2 separate regions of the Homo sapiens genome follow, and region 2 is linked to region 1. The links are contacts of gene promoters, found by promoter capture Hi-C in blood cells and fetal thymus (Javierre and others, 2016). All regions are on one chromosome and are shown on one strand. The core of a region is centred on a gene start or on the middle of the fragment in contact, and the rest is flanking DNA. Distances in the headings are between cores, read along the strand shown. Region 1 holds the start of LRRC1 (leucine rich repeat containing 1). Region 2 holds the start of ZNF451 (zinc finger protein 451).

The links. The method cuts DNA at HindIII sites, captures the fragments that hold promoters and counts their contacts. A CHiCAGO score of 5 or more calls a contact.
Region 2: the fragment with the promoter of ZNF451 here is called in contact with a fragment that was not itself captured in region 1 in 1 of 17 cell types (naive CD8 T cells); the score reaches 5.9 in naive CD8 T cells.

The regions. Positions count from the first base shown.
Region 1 is chr6:53,794,278-53,799,647 of GRCh38, reverse strand. LRRC1 (leucine rich repeat containing 1) reads right to left here and starts at 4,643. Exons shown (of 14, transcript NM_018214.5): 1 at 4,233-4,643. The coding sequence starts at 4,391. RefSeq lists an enhancer at 3,859-4,571 and a silencer at 4,538-4,777. The HindIII fragment of the contact is 950 bases long and covers 2,378-3,327 here.
Region 2 is chr6:57,087,078-57,092,447 of GRCh38, reverse strand. ZNF451 (zinc finger protein 451) reads right to left here and starts at 2,260. Exons shown (of 15, transcript NM_001031623.3): 1 at 2,174-2,260; 2 at 1,554-1,637. The coding sequence starts at 2,194. RefSeq lists a silencer at 2,202-2,271 and enhancers at 1,692-2,574, 2,442-2,591. The HindIII fragment of the contact is 8,135 bases long and covers 1-5,370 here.

The DNA.
Region 1 (5,370 bases), core at 1,603-4,102:
TGTTCATAGAAAATATGTTTACAATGCATGAAGATTCTTTCAAAGATAAGGCAATCAAAGGTGTCCAGCACAGAAGAGATGGAAAACAAAAACTGGCAAGACAAGGACACCGGATTCTGAAAGAAGACTTTGTGTCAACAATAGCTTCACCAGATTGGTGTACAAAAGTCTGACCATAGGAAGGGGAATTATGACGGCTAAGAAACAGGGCCCATCTACCCATGTTAGGACTCACTGACACATCTTTGTGCCCACTATGTACTAAATACTGTCCTAGGTCCAGCCGTGAAGACCTCTGCACTCATGGAGGTTATGTTTTAGTTAGGGAGAGAGACAAAGAACAAGAAAGCAAATATATGGTCTGGAGTTAGGTAATGATATATGCTCTAAAGGACAGGAAAAAATAAAGCAGAATATGAGAAAGAATGATGTAGGGGGCAGGCATTTGAGATAATGCCATCTGGCAATCAACAAAAATCAACTGAACTCTTAAGAGGAGGTGGCAAGGTGAAATTCAAATTTTTAAAGCTATGAAGCCTTTAGTATATTCATTTAAAATATGTGCTGCCTACTACTACATGAAGCGCTATATTGGTGCTGGAGATTACAGGAAAACACACGCATTTGAAGGTATCTGAGAACTGGTGCACACTGAGGAGAAAACCAATGGCATGTGAAAGGCTGAGGAAGTACAGAGGGGAAGCCAAGGTTCCTGCAGGGCAAGTAGGACAAAACAGTGTCACCCTATGAATGACCTTTTCTTCTGAAGTTGCTTCCAACTTGAATATTCTGACTATATTAGAAAAGGATAGATGCTGGAGCAGTGATATGCTTAAGGGAAAAGAAAGAAGCAGAGGGAGGAAGATTTTTATAAGATTCGGCAACATTCATTCAACAGATAAATAACTGTTTATTGAGCAAGACCTATTGGGTGTCACAAGGATGAGATTCTGTGCTGAACAAAGGTAAGGCCGGGCATGGTGGCTCACGCCTGTAATCCCAGCACTTTGGGAGGCTAAGGCGGGTGGGTCATGAGGTCAGGAGATCGAGACCATCCTGGCTAACATGGTGAAACCCTGTCTCTACTAAAAATACTAAAAAATTAGCTGGGTGTGGTGGTGGGCACCTGTAGTCCCAGCTACTCGAGAGGCTGAGGCAGGAGAATGGTGTGAACCCAGAAGGAGGAGCTTGCAGTGAGTGGAGATCGTGCCACTGCACTCCAGCCTAGGCAACAAGAGTGAGACTCCGTCTCAAAAAATAAATAAATAAAAAATAAACAAAGGTAAGCAAAAACACACAGACATCTCAAGAAGGTTACAGTGAGACTGCCTTTGTTAGCACAGAGCCAAAAAGGATCAAACTGCGGGTATGGGGGAGAAGTAGGTGGATGCAAAAAGGATGGTGAGGCTATCACCCAACTGCAACCAAACTGAAGATGAGGGATCTGATGCAAAAGGTTAAAAGATTAGGGAAGTAACCATCAAGTCCATAGCTTAGGAGTAGTTTAACCGTGGTGTCCTTTCCATCCCACACTAACTACATCTGGATTAAAATCATCTGCTTCCTCCCAAAGATGTGAATCATGCCTCCTTTAATCTCTATATTCCCAATAACTTGTAAATAATGGAGTCTCAATAAATGCTTGGCTAAGGCTAAGTTATAATGACATGAGTAAAACAGGAGAGACTAAATAAAGATTTGATGGGTGTGAGAAGCAGGATAGAAGATTCCTGCTAGGTGTCCAAAGCAATTGTATTTGGCTGACATCTGAATGAACAAGACCCACCAGCAACTGCATCTAACTCACTGGACAGCCCTGAGAAAGTCACCTCAATTCTGAATCTGAATTTGTAAAAGGAAGATATTGGCGCAAACCAGAAGTTGCAGGCCTTTCAGTGGAAAGAAGGTGGCTGTTATTACACTGAAACCTGGAGAGTGCATCTTTGCTGCCCTGGTAAGGGGTACCGGCTTCCCCTTAAGCTGTGCTTCCAAACAAATTATAGAGAGGAGAACATACAGCTGGTATGGCCACCAAAATAAGGACCTTTGAGGCTTGTGAACAAAACAGATGCGCTTGTGTGTGGCAGGTAAGGAGACAGGGGTTTGGAGCAGGAGCAGCAGAGACCAGTGGTAATAAGTTATACAGATCTCAGAGGTGAGACAACAGATAGCCCAAGGAAAGAATGGAAGGGATGGAACAGATATCTATGTTTGCAAGGTGGTTCTCATGTCTGGCATGTACACACCCAGGCACCAAGACACACAATAAGTCAGGGAGAAGTAGATTTTACACAACCTAAAAACTTTAATACTAATTTAACAGCTGTTAGAGCAATAATAATCCATTAGCAAGATCACCTGTAACCTTTGAAAAGCTTGTTTATTTACCATATTTACAGAGTGCCATCAGACTATATTTTGAGATTCTGACAAGTTTCCATTTAGGATCACAGAAAGACCTGACATTTCGGCTTGGCATGGGAAATTATGTAATTTCCCATGCCAAGCTGAATTCCCCAACATTACAGGAAAACCCACAAACCCTGCAGAAGGGAGTGAAAAGCCAATCCAGTCAAAGGAAATCTTCCAGTTCTACAAAAGAAAACAAAAAAACAAATACCACAAAGAGCAATGAATCATTTCTAGTGAATAACTTTTCACTCCATCTTCAATAATGTCATCCTGAAGCCCCTGAAAACTATTAAATTACATATTCTATATTCCTGGTGATATCACTGCCTAAAATTACACAACTTAAAGCAGTGAGGGAGCTGACGACTGGTAAGAAATCTTCAAGGACGTAAAAGGCCAGAAAAAAATCATGTGTTTGAAAATGCCTGCGAAATAATAAACGCCTGAGGGAACTTGATGGCTTTGCTGCTTCTAAGCTAAATAAAGCCTGGGGGGCTTTGCAAAGGTCCTAGTGAGGATAATCTCCATGATTACACAGAGCAAACATCCAATCAATTCCACATGAACCCAGGAAAGTTAATCCAAGAAGAACACCACCACTTAAAATATTGAGAAAAACACACAGTTCTTATTGTTTAAATGCTCCATCAGCGCTGGAGAACGTATCAGGTCATTCTAACAAGTCAGAACACTTGACTAGTGTTTCTGTGACAATGATTTGGCTTGTGTTAACTAAAGGGCAACAAGAAGTTTGCGTTCCAAAGCTCAGGCCTAAAACAGGTCCAATCCCCGACTGCCAGCAGTCTCCCTACTTCCTGCACACCTTTGGATTATTGCACACCGACTTCCTGCACACACCTGGGTTTGAGACACCTTCCCCGAGGGGTTACTCTAGCTAAGTTCCCGAGGCAAGCTTGAAAGAAGTTCGCTGTACCCCTACTCTCGGTCAAAGCACCATCAGCACATGTCGCTTGACAAGTTCGGCGGCAATGGAGTGATCAATTTACATAAACAACTCTGAAGAGATAACGCATCACTGCAAGGAGAGAAAGTCAGCAGGACGACTGTGCCCGCTCCGGGAAAGGCGGCTGCAAGGCTGGCCCGCGGGCAGAGCCTCCGCTGACGTTCACCGCAGCTCCCACCACGCAACAGGTCCACGTAGGCAAGGCCCGGGCGGCCGGCATCTGGGCACCTGCCCCTAGCGCTCCAGGCCCAGCTCTCCCCTGCGCCCATCTCGCGTCCACCCCCGCAGCCACCGCAGGCCAGCCGGCCAAGCCCACCCGCGATAAAGCACGGAGCACATTCCTCATTCCTCCCAAGATGCCGAGATAGTGCGGCCCGCTTGAGCGCTGCCCAGGTCACAAGGTCCTCCGGGACATGCCTTGACTAAAGGAGAGGCGCGCCCGGCCCTTGGTGGGGGAACGACCCCGGGGAGTGGAGGGGGGGAGGATGCAGTGCTCTGTAGCTTCCAGATGGAAACAGCCCGAATCACCCGGCTTCTCACCTGACCGGGCACAAGTGCCAGGTGTCAGTACCTAGCATGGATCTAAGTTACTTAACAGTCCAGAACGCTTCTCCAATAGCACGAGCCCCAGTGACTACGCGCAAAATATCCGGTCACTTTGAATAAAATGAAAAGGAACTTTTACTGGGAAAGGATGGAAGTAAAGAGACAGGGGGAGAAAGAAGCAGGTGAATGCATAAAAGAGGGAAGGTTCCTTCACGCCGGACCCGGAGATGGAAGAGGGGACGAGAGAGGATGGGAGCGGAAGGGACAGCAGACGAGCGGGCAGAGCGCTCAGGTGAGGCCGGACCCTTACCTCGGGCAGCTCGCGGAGCTGGTTGGCGTCCAGCAGCAGCTCCTCCAGGCTCCGGGCATAGCGGTAGATCTCCTCGGGGACGTAGACCAGCGAGCAGTGGCGCTTGTCGATGCTCTCCACATGACGGTTGCACCGCCACAGGGGGATGCAGTGGAACATCGCCGCCCCCGCCGCCGCCTAGCCGGGTCCCGAGCGGCGGAGACCCGGGCTCCGAGCCCGCTCTGGCCGGCGGCTCCGCTCAGTCCGCTGCCCTCTCCGCGCTCGTTGTTGGCTCTTGGGTTAGCTCGCTTCTCGCGCCGGGCTTCGCGGTCGGAAGTGCTTCAAGGAACCTGGAGCGGGAGCCCCTGCCCCGTCCCTGTACCCCCGCCCGCCAGCCGGTGCCTCCACTCCCACCCGCCAGTCGCCGTCGCCGCCCCCGCCGCCGCGCGGAGCTTCCTACTCGCAGCCGCCGCGCGGACTGAGCATGCGCGCCAGTGGGTGCGCGCCGAGGGCGTTTCCCGGCCCGAGGGATGCTCCGCTCCGGGTTTTCCCGGCGACCTGCATCCAGAGAGGGTCGACTGACCTGCGGGCCGGCTGCTGGCGGTCTGCTTACTCCGGCAAAGACGGGGGCGCATCGGGCCGTTTGAGGAAGGCAGACTGTGAAAGGACTTGGGACAAAGATGAGGCGGAGTAGAGGCGGCCTGAGCAGAGCAGAACAACTTTGATATTTAGTTTTATTTAACTCGCACTCCTCTCCTTGCTCCCCTTCCCCAAAACAACTTTCTCTTCCGGGGTCACACAGGACCGCCCCAAAGCGTACCTTGCGCGCCGGGGGCGCCAGGCGCTACTGGATTCGGTGTAGTTTTGAGGTGTTTGCACCACCCTCGCTGCTGCTTTCGTGGCTGCCCGTGTGCCCGCTGCTCACGGCTGCCCCAGAAGTGTGAGCTGGCCGCGCCCGGCCCTCTGGTCCTCGGGCACCGCCTGCAGGCTTTGTAACTTGGGAGCACATCTCTGGTGATCATGGTTTATGCAGTGAGTGATAGTAAATCCTCCTCCCTGTACCAGCAAAGGCATAGGAGTCTGAGAGTCTGCGAGATTCTCATAGATGTGGTTGCACCTGGCAAGGAGCCCAGCTGCAGAAATAAGCAGGCAAACGCGA
Region 2 (5,370 bases), core at 1,011-3,510, 3.3 Mb before region 1:
GAACCTTTATTTGGGAACAAGAGTAAGAAGTTGTATCATGTCAGATATTCAATGATTGTACATTCTTTACTCTTGATGCAAAGACGGAAGTGATCCTCTACATTCAACATAAAATTTAAAGACTCCTTTAAACCAAAGGTGAACTCAAGCCTACATTAACTAGTCACAAGCTACACTGTAATTCATTACACAAAACATTTTTCAAATATTAAGAGATGCTACTCGTGTTTCTCAAAAAGGGCCATAGTTCATAAAGAAGTATGTCATTCCTAGTATTATTTCTACTAAACACCATAAGAAAAAAATTCTCTTCACAAATATACCAAGATTCAGGAAGAACCTGAAATATCTGTCCTCAAGAGCCATGGAAACCTGTTATTAAACATACTTCAGCGCATGGTGAAGGAAAGGACAGGATACAATTCACCCCCATCCTCTACTCCAAATCCGTAGAAGATCAAAATGAAAAGGAGAGAGTACAACATACACTGGTAAAGGGAAAGAAATTCAATAAAACAATCTTGTGAAGGACTCCTAAACAAATCTATTAAAATACCATACAAAAATGAATTACCAAAATGGCCCTAATGCTGGGAAAGAAACTGTTTAATAACCAATTTTACAAGGTTTCCCAGCATCCACCATAAATGCACATCTGACACTCAACGAAAAATTCTACAGCTTGAATACCAAACTGCAACTAACTACGGCATTCCAAAAGACGAGTTGGGGACAGAACCGTTTTCTGCCTGGCGAGCTGAGATACCACTTTACGCAAAGCCTTTCTAAAACTCCAATAATTATGGAAGAAAATCACCCCAAAATACATCATAAAACACTCTCTTCTGCTTTGGAAACCCATGCTGTACAAAGTGTGCTCAGAAATCCTTATGTCCCTGCACTTGTCTGAAAATGAAGATTCCTAGGCCCCCGCCTGGAAATTCTGATTCGGTAGGTCTGCAGTGGGGCCCAGGAATCTGCCTGTTTATACTTACTAAGGCTTGAAAACTACTGTCTCAAAGGGAACAAACTCAGAAAAATAGAGCATGTTCCCAGTGATGTAGGATTCTTCATTATGAGCATCAACTGTACTATGCCGTAACATGATGATCTCAGAGGTTAGAGAAATCTTCAAGCTATTTGCCTTCATGTTAGAAGCACCATAACGCTAAGATTCTGGGCTCTCACAACCCTTCCTGTTTTCTACGTCCTTGCTCATCATTAGCAGCTCCTTCCTCCGTGTCGCCTTTAGAAGTTACTCTTGCTCCATTTCAAAACAGCGTTTTAGACACCAGCGTTTTTATCTTAAGTTTAAATGAAAGGCAGGGGGCGAGATTAAGTGTACAGCACGTTCTTTAGGACGTGCTCTTTGTGATGGCTACGGGGGTGGCTCAGATAGCTCTTTTGGTAAATTTCCCAATCCTGCGCCATGCTCCAGTGTCTAGTATGTATTAGACACTCATGAACATTAAATGACCAGGTGAGGTAACATTACATAATGGCCCACCATAGTCTTTTACTCTGGGAAAACCCCAATCATCATTGCTACTTACACTGACAAACTGAATGTCGTCTTCATTTTCATCCGTTGTTGACTCAGATGCCTCAGGGCCAGCTGGAGGGACAGATTCTATTATCTATAAAAACAAGCCAAAACATGCTTATCTGTTCAGCCACATTCGTGTAGGAAGAGAGCGTTTCCGAAAGGAACAATTAAAGACAGAGAGCTCTTGAGGAAAACGAACTGAGCACAATTTCACGGAAACCCGACTAGGAACGGAACTCGAGCTCTGGCTCTTGCCACAGAGTGTGCGGAGCTGCAGGGACCCAACGCTGAAAACGCGTTAGTTACCAGCCTCTCACAATTCCCCTTATCTACTCCAGGAGGAACGCAAGCTCAACACCGAAGGGCAATCCTGCCTTAAAACGTCGCTCCCACTGGCCCAGCCGCGGCCACAACGAACGCCAGGGCCCGTGCGGGGGGCCGGGCGGCCATTGTTGCTGCGGGTTCCTCGCTCAGACACGCACCAGGCCCCAGAGCTGGGCTCGGCCCAAGACACTGAAGAGGTATCGCCCCGAGGCTGCGACGGAGCACCAGGCCTCAGACCGCAGAAAACACAAACCCTTCGCGGTTCGCCTCTGAGAACGCCAGGACCCTCACTCGACTACTCACCTCCGACCCCGGGTCTCCCATGTCTCCGACGGCCGCGCTGACAGCACCACTGCTCCTGCTGTCCCTGCCGCCGCCGTCGCCACGAATCCCCTTCCCGCCCTGCACCGCCTGGCGCTACCGGGACCCGCCCCTGCGTGAGCGCCGACGCCACCGGCGGAAAGAGACGCAAAACCTCTTCAAAGGAGGAGCGGCCCTTACTGGCCCGCTATGCCCCCGGAGCCGCTTTCTCTCACTCCCGGGCTTCCTTCCCCGCGCCGCGCAGGATGCTGGGAATTGTAGTTCGGGTCCGCCCCGAGACCGCCCCTCGCCGGAGAGGAAAAGAACCATGCGCCTAAAAGACGCCAGCTGCAGTGGGTGGGGCGAAGCCAGGGGCCAGCTGGGTCCTGTGAGATAGCGAAGCACTGGGAAGATGTGGGAGGATGTGAAGGAGGGTTTGAGTTGGTATTTGTTTGGTTTTGGTATGGTTGTGAAGCGCAGCTCATTGATTTTTCTGTTTTAGCCCTGAAGGTGGGTGGTGGGAACGGATTTCTCTTTTTTTCCTTTCATTTTTAAATTTATGTATTTACTCATTTTTGAGGACAGGGGCTATGTGGAGGTTTAGCTGAATCCTAGGATCAGGAAAGAATCTGAAGTATCCTTACATTACACACCTCTTCCCTAGCGTCAGTCTCCCAGGCCCTGCCAGTATTAATACACCTGAGGAAGAAAATAGGGATGGGAAATCCAGGGCCCAATAGGAAAGGGAACCGAGGTCTACCTAACTATCACTAAACCCTAGCCAGTGATTTTGAAATGCACTTTTTCAATATTCTCAGATATACTGAGAGAATATGAGAGATCTATTTATAGACTGCTGTAAGGTTGACCTTTTAACCTTTTGTGTGTTCACACTCATAAACCAGTCTATAAAATAGATCTTTTATATTCAACTATGCATTTAATCTGTTCTCAGGTAATACCTTACCAAAAATTTAAAAAGGTTTTTTAAAAAAACACACCAATCGTTGTCAATAAAGTTTATGAAAAGAATTAAGTGATAACATTATTTTAGGCCAGGCGGGTCCTCACACTCTGGGAGGCCGAGGCGGGCGGTTCACTTAAACCCAGGAATTCGAGACCAGCCTGAGCAATAAGAGGGAACCTCGTCTCTACAAAAAATACAAAAATTAGCTAGGCGTAGTGGTCCTTGCCTGTAGTCCCAGCTACTCAGGAGGTTTAGGTAGGAGAATCGCTTGAGGCCGAGAGATTGAGATCCAGGCTGCAGGGAGCCAAATTCATGCCACTGCACTGCAGCCTGGGTGACAGAGCAAGACACTGTCTCAAAAAAAAAAAAAAAAAAACACAAATTATTTAACATCTCAGATTCCTGTTTTTGTTTGTATGCAAAACTACCATCTGATTGCCTAAGCCTGTAGTAATTATTGTTTAATATTTGACATTTCCTGCATTTCCACCAAGTGCTTTATGACTTTAGTTACTTTCTACCTAGTAAGTTTGAGACTTGTGGAAGCCAATTGAGAATGACAGACGTGCATGGGGAGTTCTTCAAAAGCTGTGTGTAAATTAAATATTTTTAAAACGTTAATGTGTAGGCAAAACTTGTATTTAAAAGCTCTTCCTAGTGGGCTGGTGAAAGTGTCCTCTAATATTTAATCAGTTGAGGCAGGAGTTAATGGGTAAAATTCTTGGAAAACAAGCAGTATGTGGCTAGACCCAAAAACTTCTCACACCATACAACTCAGTAACTGTAGTTGCAGGGATTTTCCTGAAGATACATCACAGGTTTTTTTATAACAGCAAAAACTGGAAAATATCTAAATGTCTAATAATTGGGGAATGTAATGTTTAAATTTTGGTATGTATGCTATAAAGATAACATTACAGTGTTTTATCTCCACTGAAAATGTTTACCTAACATTTCTCAAAGCATATTTTTCAAAAATTCAAGAAATATATAGGATAATTAGAACCATGTTGTATTCGTTCTTGCACTGCTATAAAGAACTACCTGAAACTGCGTAATTTATAAAAGAAAGAGGTTTAATTGGCTCACAGTTCCACAGGCTGTACAGGAAGCATGGCTGGGGAGGCCTTGGGAAACTTAAAATTGTGGCAGAAGGTGAAGAGGAAGGAGGAACCTCTTTACATGGGCAGAGGAGGAAGAAAGCAAAGCAGGGAGGTGCTACACACTTTTTAACAACTAGATCTCGTGAGAACTCACTCATTATTAGAGAACAGCAAGGGGGAAATCCGCCCCCATGATCCAATCACCTCCCACCAGGCCCCTCCCCCAATATTGGGGATTACAATTCCACATGGAATTTGGGTGAGGACACAAATCCAAACCATATCACATGTCAAGCCATCAAGAAAAGCATCCCTGAAAGAGAAAACCTACTTAAACAGGAATAGTAATTTATTTTTTTTCTGGGCAGCTGGACTATGTGTTTACAAGAAAATCCAGGCTGGGGGTGGTGGTTCACACTTATAATCCCAGCACTTTGGGAGGCAGGAGGAATGCTTGAGCCCAGGGGTTCAAGACCAGCCTAGGTAACATAGTGAGACCCTGTCTCTGCAAAAAAATTTAAAATTAGCCAGGTGTGGTGGTACATGTGTGTGGTCCCAACTGCTCAGGAGGCTGGAGTGGGAGGATCACTTGAGCCCAAGAGGTCAAGGCTTCAGTGAACCTAATCTCACCACCGCACTACAACCTGGGTAACAAAGCAAGACCCTGTCTCAAAAAAAGAAAATAAAAAGAAAATCCTGGGCCGGGCGTGGTGGCTCATGCCTGTAATTGCAGCACTCTGGGAGGCCAAGGTGGGCGGATCACCATGTCAGGAGACTGAGACCATCCTGGCTAACACGGTGAAACCCCGTCTCTACTAAAAATACAAAGAATTAGCCGGGCGTGGTGGCGGGTGCCTGTAGTCCCAGCTACTTGGGAGGCTGAGGCAGGAGAATGGCATGAACCTGGGAGGCAGTTGAAGTGAGCTGAGACTGCGCCACTGCACTCCAACCTAGGCAACAGAGCGAGACTCTGTCTCAAAAAAAAAGAAAAAAAGAAAATCCTTTGAAGCCCACCAAGAGATTTGAGACATGCTTGTAGTCCCCAAAAGACAGGTTTATTTAGCTTGGTGTAGCCAAAGAGAAGAAAAGCCATAGGCAAAATTTAGGAATCTCCCAGTCTTAGAAAGTTA